Regions from separate parts of the Homo sapiens genome. Here region 2 is linked to region 1. The links are contacts of gene promoters, found by promoter capture Hi-C in blood cells and fetal thymus (Javierre and others, 2016). All regions are on one chromosome and are shown on one strand. Each heading gives the region's core, a stretch centred on a gene start or on the middle of the fragment in contact. The rest is flanking DNA. Distances are from core to core; before and after follow the strand shown. Region 1 holds the start of ZNF674 (zinc finger protein 674). Region 2 has its middle 29 kb from the start of SLC9A7.

Evidence for each region. Contacts are between HindIII fragments. The CHiCAGO score rates a contact against its expected background, and 5 or more counts as called.
Region 2: a contact is called between a fragment that was not itself captured here and the fragment with the promoter of ZNF674 in region 1, in 1 of 17 cell types (M2 macrophages). The highest score is 5.4, in M2 macrophages.

The regions. Positions count from the first base shown.
Region 1 is chrX:46,542,674-46,546,865 of GRCh38, forward strand. It overlaps ZNF674 (zinc finger protein 674), which reads right to left and starts at 2,748. Exons shown (of 6, transcript NM_001190417.2): 1 at 2,698-2,748; 2 at 1,828-1,938. ZNF674-AS1 (ZNF674 antisense RNA 1) reads left to right here and starts at 2,817. Exons shown (of 2, transcript NR_015378.3): 1 at 2,817-2,954; 2 at 3,793-4,192. RefSeq lists enhancers at 2,122-3,321, 2,937-3,086. The HindIII fragment of the contact is 22,375 bases long and covers 1-4,192 here.
Region 2 is chrX:46,785,802-46,789,830 of GRCh38, forward strand. No RefSeq gene overlaps it. Among named protein-coding and RNA genes, the nearest start is that of SLC9A7, 29 kb to the left of the region's middle. The HindIII fragment of the contact is 5,433 bases long and covers 1-4,029 here.

The sequences.
Region 1 (4,192 bases), core at 1,498-3,997:
TGCACTCCAGCCTGTGTGACAACGTCAGAGCCTGGCTCAAAAATAAACAAAAAAATAAAAAAATCTTCGAAGCAACTAAATGTGCAGCAAAGGGGACTTAGTAAAAAAATATGACACGTGCAAAACAAGCATACTACACAGGCTTTAAAGATGGTTTCTGAACTTTGTTTTCAGTTCCTGGGTGTTTAAAGGGAGGTTCCAACAAAGCAACTGCAGTGTAATCTCATTTTTGTTAAGCAATATGTACAAATATGAAGTCTCAAACAGCATTTATTCTTTTTTTTGTTTTTTTTTGAGATGCAGTTTTGCTCTTGTTGCCCAGGCTGGAGTGCAGTGGCATGATCTCAGCTCACTGCAACCTCCACCTCCCGGGTTCAAGCGATTCTCCTGCCTCAGCATCCCAAGTAGCTGGAATTATAGGCATGCACCAACATGCCCAGCTAATTATTTTTGTATTTTTAGTAGAGACGGGGTTTCATCATGTTGGTCAGGCTGGCCTCAAACTCCTGACCTCAGGTGATCCATCCGCCTCAGCCTCCCAAAGTGCTGGGATTACAGGCATGAGCCACCGCGCCTGACCTCAAACAGCATTTATTCAAATGCTGACATTGGTTACATTGTTCGGTGATTTTAATTTTCTTGTTTATTTGCATTTTTGACAAGGAATATTAATTACTAATGAAACAAAAATTAAAATTTATTAAAAAATCACTTCTTATCAAACAGAGCCCTAGAGGTGAAAAGACACTCTCCAAGTGTGTATGAGTAAGATCTCTTCATGTGGTTTGGAGGAAGGAGCCCAACCAGGGCTCAAAGGGCCGCAGGGAAGGAGAGGTGTGGGGCTGGGTGGGTAACAGCCAAGCACTGTCAGTTCTGTGAGGGGCTGAAAACCACTGTGCCTGCTTCCCTGCATCCACCTCTCTAACTGGCCACCTACCCTGCTCCCACCCCACCACTTCCTCCTTTCCCATGATTTGCATTTTGATTGCCATGCTCCTCCTTCTTTGGCAGATTTTCAAAAGAAAGTTCCAGCAAGGAGATTCTGTGCAGAGTAACCATTTCATACTGCAGCAATCACTGTGATACCATCAGGACAACAGGGTTCAGCTCCGTGTAGCTTAGCAGGTCATGTCCCCTGGCCCACTTTCATTAAGCATTGAAATAAGGCAGCAGAGCTGGATGACAGCATACCTAGAGACTACTCTGAAATTCTATAAACTAAAAATATATTTTCTGCACTTTGGTCAGGATGAACGGACACTCAGCATTTCCCCTGGAAGCAGGTGCCTGGTTGATGGTGTGGGGCTGACTCAAATTCAGAAATAGCCAATGGCAAGAGAAGGAAGCATGGGGGTGCACAAATAGGTGTGCTAGGAGAGGCCAATCCTCTGTGGCTGGCTGTGATCCTTCCCAGCCTCATCCCGCCTTTGCAGGTACTACAGCAGGGCACCTGCCCCCATGGGGGACATCCATGCCTCCATCCACCTGTGACTTTCACCTGTCCCTCCTCCAGCAGGAATCAAACTGCACTGTCACATGGTCCTCCATGGCACCTGGAAGTAGAGCCAGCTTTGCTCTGTCTCAGCTGAAGTGAGGGACAAAGGCCACTACGGGTCCAGCTCTTCTAGGACCTGCTGTCCCGTGAGCCTCCTTTGCTCTGAGGATCTGGGTCTGGGCTCTTGCTGAGGCTTCTCCTCCAACTCGCCTCAGCTCAGCGTACCTCTCTTGTGTCCAAGGCGGCAGGACCAAGGGATTCAGAGACAAACACACCCCAGTTGGGGCCATCACTATAGCACTAGATCTCTGCCTGTGACCCAGGGAACTCACCTCTTCCTGGGGCCTCAGCCTAAGTCTTCTGCGACTAAGTGGGGAAGCCGAGGCACAGATAAACTGGAGTCTGAAATCGGTGAGCAGTGGTCTCAGGTCTGCACTCTGACCCTGGAAACACAATGACCACAGGAGATTCAATTAGCAACACCTATGCTCCCTTCCATGCAGTGAAGTTGAGTGAAACCCAAAGGTTTTTACCCAACAGAAGAGGGACAACCCCTCATTCTAGTTTTAAGAGTTAACATTCATGCACAGCTCAATTATCCTCAGTGAGCGAAACCCTGCCTTCCTGAGTCCGGGCTTTGGAATCAACTGACTGGCTGCTGTGCCACTTTTATTCACTGAAGAAATGATTGCCTTCCATGAGCCGGTTCTCCGTGTTGCAAATCCATCAGTGAACAAAATCTCAAATTCCCAGCTCCAGATTTCTAGTCTGGAGGAAGAGACACACTGGAAACAATAAACATGATAAACAAAGTACAGGAAAAGAAAAAGAAAAAGGATTCCTCGGGTTTGCTACCTACGGGACTTTGGACAGGTTGCCAAGCCACACTGTACCGTTTTCTCTCTATAACATGAAAATAATCATCGTAACACCTCACAGGGCTCCTGCTAATGTGAAACATTTGCAAGAGTGTCTGGCAGTTACCACCGGGTGAGGATACAAGCGCTGAGTGACTCAATCAATTAGTCACTCGCTGGCCCCGAACCTCGCCCCCAACACTCACGCCCACCGCCTGTGTCACTCAATCCCCACAAGGACGCTCACCCGTGGCCCCATGACCCCACGGCCCCGTAAACTCCCGTCATTCCTCCCGTCCCCCCTTCCCCCGATCAAAACCATCACCACCTCACCCTCCCGCTTACTTCACTGCCGACAGCCTGAAACCTCAGGGGCGGATGACAACAGCCAGTGTGAACGAAGCGCCACCCTCCGGGTCAGCCGAGCATTTCCGCTTCCCACAGCCCCCTGGGAACGTGAAGTCAAAGCAATGCGCACGCGCAGTGGCTTTGAAGGCGGGGCAACAAAGCCTGTGGCCGATGTGGCGCTCCTCGGCCCGCGCTTCAGTGGTTATGACAGTGTTCGCTCTAAGGGGAGAAGGAATGTGTGACCATTTCCAACGGTAAGTCGTACAAAAGGTCCGGGGAGGCGTACCTGGGCGGCGAGAGGCGAGAGAACTCCGCGCGGGCTTTCCAGTGCCCAGGCCCCTGCCGGCTCCGAAGCCGAAATCCCTTCTTCCACTTCGTTCTCTTGCAGTGGACGTGGGGTGTTCCCACCCCTCTGTCCCCAAGGCCACTGTTTCTGTCTTCCGCTCCTAGGAATAGGAAAAAGAGTCGCGCCTCTGGCATCTGTGGCAGCTCCAGAGCGCGGCCCTCTAGGGTCCAGGCAGGCCACATGGAGCGGGGCCCTAGGCCTGGCTCAGAGCGTCCTAAGAGCAACAGGTCTGGCTCAGTCGGGGAAGTGGCCTGGAAGAGGGGCTTTGGAGCCGGGCTTCAGAGCCAGCAACCTCCCGAAGTGAGGGAAGAAAGCCTCATTCTGATTGTTCTCTACCCAGTGGTGGGGCTCCGGTTCCTAGGATCTTAGACACCCTGGGAGAATCTGGATTTTACTTTTTAGCGGAGAGGTGTTTTCTCTGAGAATGCCAGCCAGTGGCAACATGGCCCGCTAAAAAGGCCTGTAGTAAACTTGAGGAAAGTTTTCTGTTTCCTGTCTGGGTCTGGGAGAAAGAGAACAAGTGTTGTTCTCCATGCTTACTATGCCTGCCTGGTCACCAAGCGGGCCTCTTTGGGTCAAGTATGACAGAGTCTCCCTCAGGTACACAGCAAACCCTTCTGTGCTAGAGCCAGCTGGTGCCAGACACTGTTCATAGATGTGTCCAAGACATTTGTGTAATCTATCAGACACGTATTTAATTTCCATTTGAACATGAGTGTTTTTCCTCTTTCTCTTTCTCCTCTCAGGTTAACTTGCATTCCCCAGATAGTTTGGATGAGTTACAACCTAAATCTGCAAACTCAATACAGCCAGACCCTGGGAAGTGACTCTCTCCAAGCCTCCTGTACAAGTCCCAGGAAAAGAGCCTGTTTTCCCTTGGACATGTGAGCAGTGAATTACTGCTCATTCAGAATTTCATGTGTATGTGTTACTGATGGCCAGGTTTAGAGATACCAACCTATTTATTTCTAGAGGAGAGGTGATTTGATAACCTTTTCAGATATCACTATCAGTAGGCAGAAAAGGGTTAATAGTATGATAGGGTTAATATGTCCTGAGGAGAGTAAAGAAATTGCAAACTGCAGAAGCACCTGATCTGTGGCCCTGGCCAGCATCTCTCCATATCCTGATTCTGTAAGATCAAGT
Region 2 (4,029 bases), core at 721-3,220, 240 kb after region 1:
ACCAACATGGAGAAACCCTGTCTCTACTAAAAATACAAAATTAGCTGGGCATGGTGGCGCATGCCTGTAATCTCAACTACTCGGGAGGCTGAGGCAGGAGAATCCCTTGCACCGGGCAGGTGGAGGTTGCGGTGAGCTGAGATCACACCATTGCACTCTAGCCTGGGCAACAAGAGCGAAACTTCGTCTTAAAAAATAAAAAGGAAAAGGCTACGTACTATATGATTCCAACTATATGACATTCTGGAAAACTATGGGTTAGGAGAGAGGGAGGGATGAATAGATGGAGCACAGAGGATTTTTAGGGCAGTGAAACTACGCTGTAAGATACTACAATGGTGGATACATGTTGTTATACATTTTTCCAAACCCATTCAATGTACACCAAGGGTGAACTCTAATGTACACTGTGGACTTTGGGTGATAATGATGTGTCAATGGAGGTTCATCAGTTGGAACAAATGTACCACTCTGGTGGGGAAGGCTGATAGTGGGAGCTGTTAGAGTGGGGTGGGAGCTGTTAGAGTGGGGTGGGATCAGGGAGCATCTGGGAACTCTGTATTTCCACTTAATTTTGCTGTGAGGCCAGGCTTGGTGGCTCATGCCTGTGATCCCAGCACTTTGGGAGGCCGAGGTGGGAGGATCGCTTGACCTCAAGAGTTTGAGACCAGCCTGGGCTACATAGTGAGACCTCATCTCTATCATATATATATATTTAAAATTTTTGCTGTGAACCTAAGCATTCAGACTTTCACCATTAAGTATGATGTTATCTATAGGGTTTTTGCTTGTTTGTTTGTGCATGCCTTTTTCAGATTGTGCAAATTCCCTTATCTTCCTAGTTTGCTGAGAGTTTGTTTGTTTGTTTCCCCTTGCCCCACCCCCCGCTGCCCTGCGAGATGGACTTTCACTCTGTCACCCAGGTTGGAGTGCAGTGGCATGATCACAGTTCACTGCAACCTCCACCTCCCAGGTTCAAGCGATTCTCCTGCCCCAGCCTCCCGAGTAGCTGGGATTACAGGTACATGCCACCACGCCTGGCTAAATTTTTGTATTTTTAGTAGAGACGGGGTTTCACCATGTTGGCCAAGCTGGTCTCGAATTCCTGACCTCATGATTCGCCCTCCTCGGCCTCCCAAATTGCTGGGATTACAGGCGTGAGCCACTGTGCCTGGCCTACCGAGAGTTTTTTTTTTTTTTAATAAATTGATGTTGAATTTGTCAAATGCTTTTTCTCCATCAATTGATGTGGTCATGTGGTTTTTATTCTTTTTTAATATAGTGGAATCCGTTGATTGAATTTTTTGTTTGTTTTGTTTTGTTTTTGAGACAGAGTCTCACTCCGTCACCCAGGCTGGAGTGCAATGGTGCGATCTTGGCTCACTGCAACCTCCGCCCCCTGGGTTCAAGCGATTCTCCAGCCTCTGCCTCCTGAGTAGCTGAGATTACAGGCACCCGCCATCATACCTGGCTAGTTTTTGTATTTTTGTAGATGGGGTTTCATCATATTTGCCAAGCTGGTCTTGAACTCCTGACCTCAGGTGATCCACCCGCCTCGGCCTCCCAAAGTGCTGGGATTACATGCATCAGCCACCACACCCGGCCTTGCTGATTAATTTTGAGTATTGAACCAGTCTTGCATTCCAAGAATAAATGCCATGTGATCATTATATACTATTCGGCATGTTGTCTACAAAGAGGGACAGTACTGGAAGTCCTAGCCACTATACTAGGCACAAAAAAAGGACACAGGTTAGAAAGAAAAGAAGAGACTTTTCCCTGTATGAAGACAACATGATGTTTATCTACATAGAAAATCCCAAAGAATCCACAAAATGACATGAAACTAATAAGTGAGTTTAACAAGGTCACTGAATACAAGGCCAACATACAGAGATCAATTCTATTTTTTATACATTAGTAACAAATAATTACAAATAGAAGTTAAAACGATATCATTTATATTATCTCCAAAAATGAAATACTTAGGTATAAATCTAAGAAAACACATATAGAATATGTATGCTGGATAACTATTGAAAAACAGGGGTGGAAAGGATAGCAATGGAGATGGAGTGTGGGCAGAGGGCAGAACCATTTGCTTCACTCTAGGGAAGCACGCTTTACCCTGCATAACCCATGAATACTACTCTGACACTCTGACACTGCTTTTGCTTACCTATTCTTCATCTCTGTGCACATCCTCAGAATGTACACAGTCTTGACTGTTATCTATTTCTGCAATATTGCTGCATATCAAATTACACCAAAATTCAGTGGCTTATAACCATAAGCATGTATTTAGCTCACAAATATGTGGCTCAACAATTTAGACTGAACTCAAATCGGGGAATATCTCTGGTCTTCACTAGGATCACTCTATTGTCTCGGGGTTGGCTAGCTGTCAACTTATCTCAGATGGCGTTGGCTGCTACTGGGGTCACTTGACTGTTCCATATATTTTTCATATATTCACCACATATATTTCATCCTCTGGCAGGCTAGCCTGAGCATGTTCTCATGGTGAGGGCGGAAGAGGAAGAGCAGAAGTGTATACCTGTAAGTGCTTTTTAAAACCTCTGCATGGCGGGGCATGGTGGCTCACGCCTGTAATCCCTGCACTTTGGGAGGCTGAGGCGGGCTGATCACCTGAGGTCAGGAGTTCGAGACCAGCCTGGCCAACATGGCAAAACCCTACTAAAAATACAAAAATTAGCTGGGCATGGTGGCACGCACCTGTAATCCCAGCTACTGGGGAGGCTGAGGCAGGAGAACCGCTTGAACCCAGGAGGCGAAGGTTGTAGTGAACCGAGATCGCACCACAGCACTCCAGCCTGAGTGACACAGCAAGTCTCTGACTCAAAAAAAACCAAAAAACAAACAAACAAAAAACACCTCTGCATGCATCACATCTGCTAACATCCCATTGTCCAAAGAAAGTTACATGGCTAGCCTCAGAATCAAGGGGCACAGAAATATACTCTGTCTCTTCGATCAAAGGAGTTTCAAAGTTACGTGTCAAAGGTACAGATACAGGAGGAGGAGTGAATAATTGGGAACATTAATGCAACCAGTCTACTAAAATCATGGTGCGAGGCTCTAATCTTTGGCACCCTCCCTGGCCGCAATGCATTTTGTGACCTCAGTCTTCATTCTTGCACATCACTTTGATATCATCATTACTCTCCCAGCACATCCTTTCAGGATTAGCTCTAGGGCTGGTCTAAGACACAGATAGATGAATGGGCCACTGATTTGCATTCCAATCTCACAGCTCTAAGCTCTGAAAAGCATCTGGCCCAGGCTAGGCTGGTTTAGTTGAGCCGTGGGTGGGAAATAAGGGCTGTGCTCATGCCTAAGGGTCTGAACTGTTCTCTGTCGCCAAATTGCTGAGCTTTCAAAAGCTGGATGTGACCTTACCTCACTCAGACTTGTTATTTACAGCTGTGTTTCCACTAGTGAGGTCGTTTTGGGGATCTGGAGTCAAAAACCTTCCTCTGTCACTGGAAAATATTTACTGATTTCTAGCTGTGTATCTGACCATGCTAACTTCTTCTTTTTTTCTTTTTTCTTTTTCTTTTCTTCTTTCTTTTTGATGGAGTTTCGCTCTTGTCACCCAGGCTGGAGTACAGTGGTGTGATCTCAACTCACTTCAACCTCTACCTCCAGGGTTCAAGCAATTCTCCTGCCTCAGTCTCCCGAGTAGCTGGGATTACAGGTGCCCACCACCATGCCCAGCTAATTTTTTGTATTTTTAGTAGAGACAGGGTTTCGCCATGTTGGGCAGGCTGGTCTTGAACTCCTGACCTCAGGTGATCTGCCCACCTCAGCCTCCCAAAGTGCTGGAATTACAGGCGTGAGCCACCTTGCCCAGCCTGCTAACTTCTTTTTATATGCTTTAGATCAGTCATCATCTGTATGTTCTCTCTTTCCATCTGAACCAAATTCTTGACTTTCCTCAATCCTATGGCTATGTGATTCCTAAAGTGTCTAAAACAGGCTGGGCACAGTGGTTCACGCCTATAATCT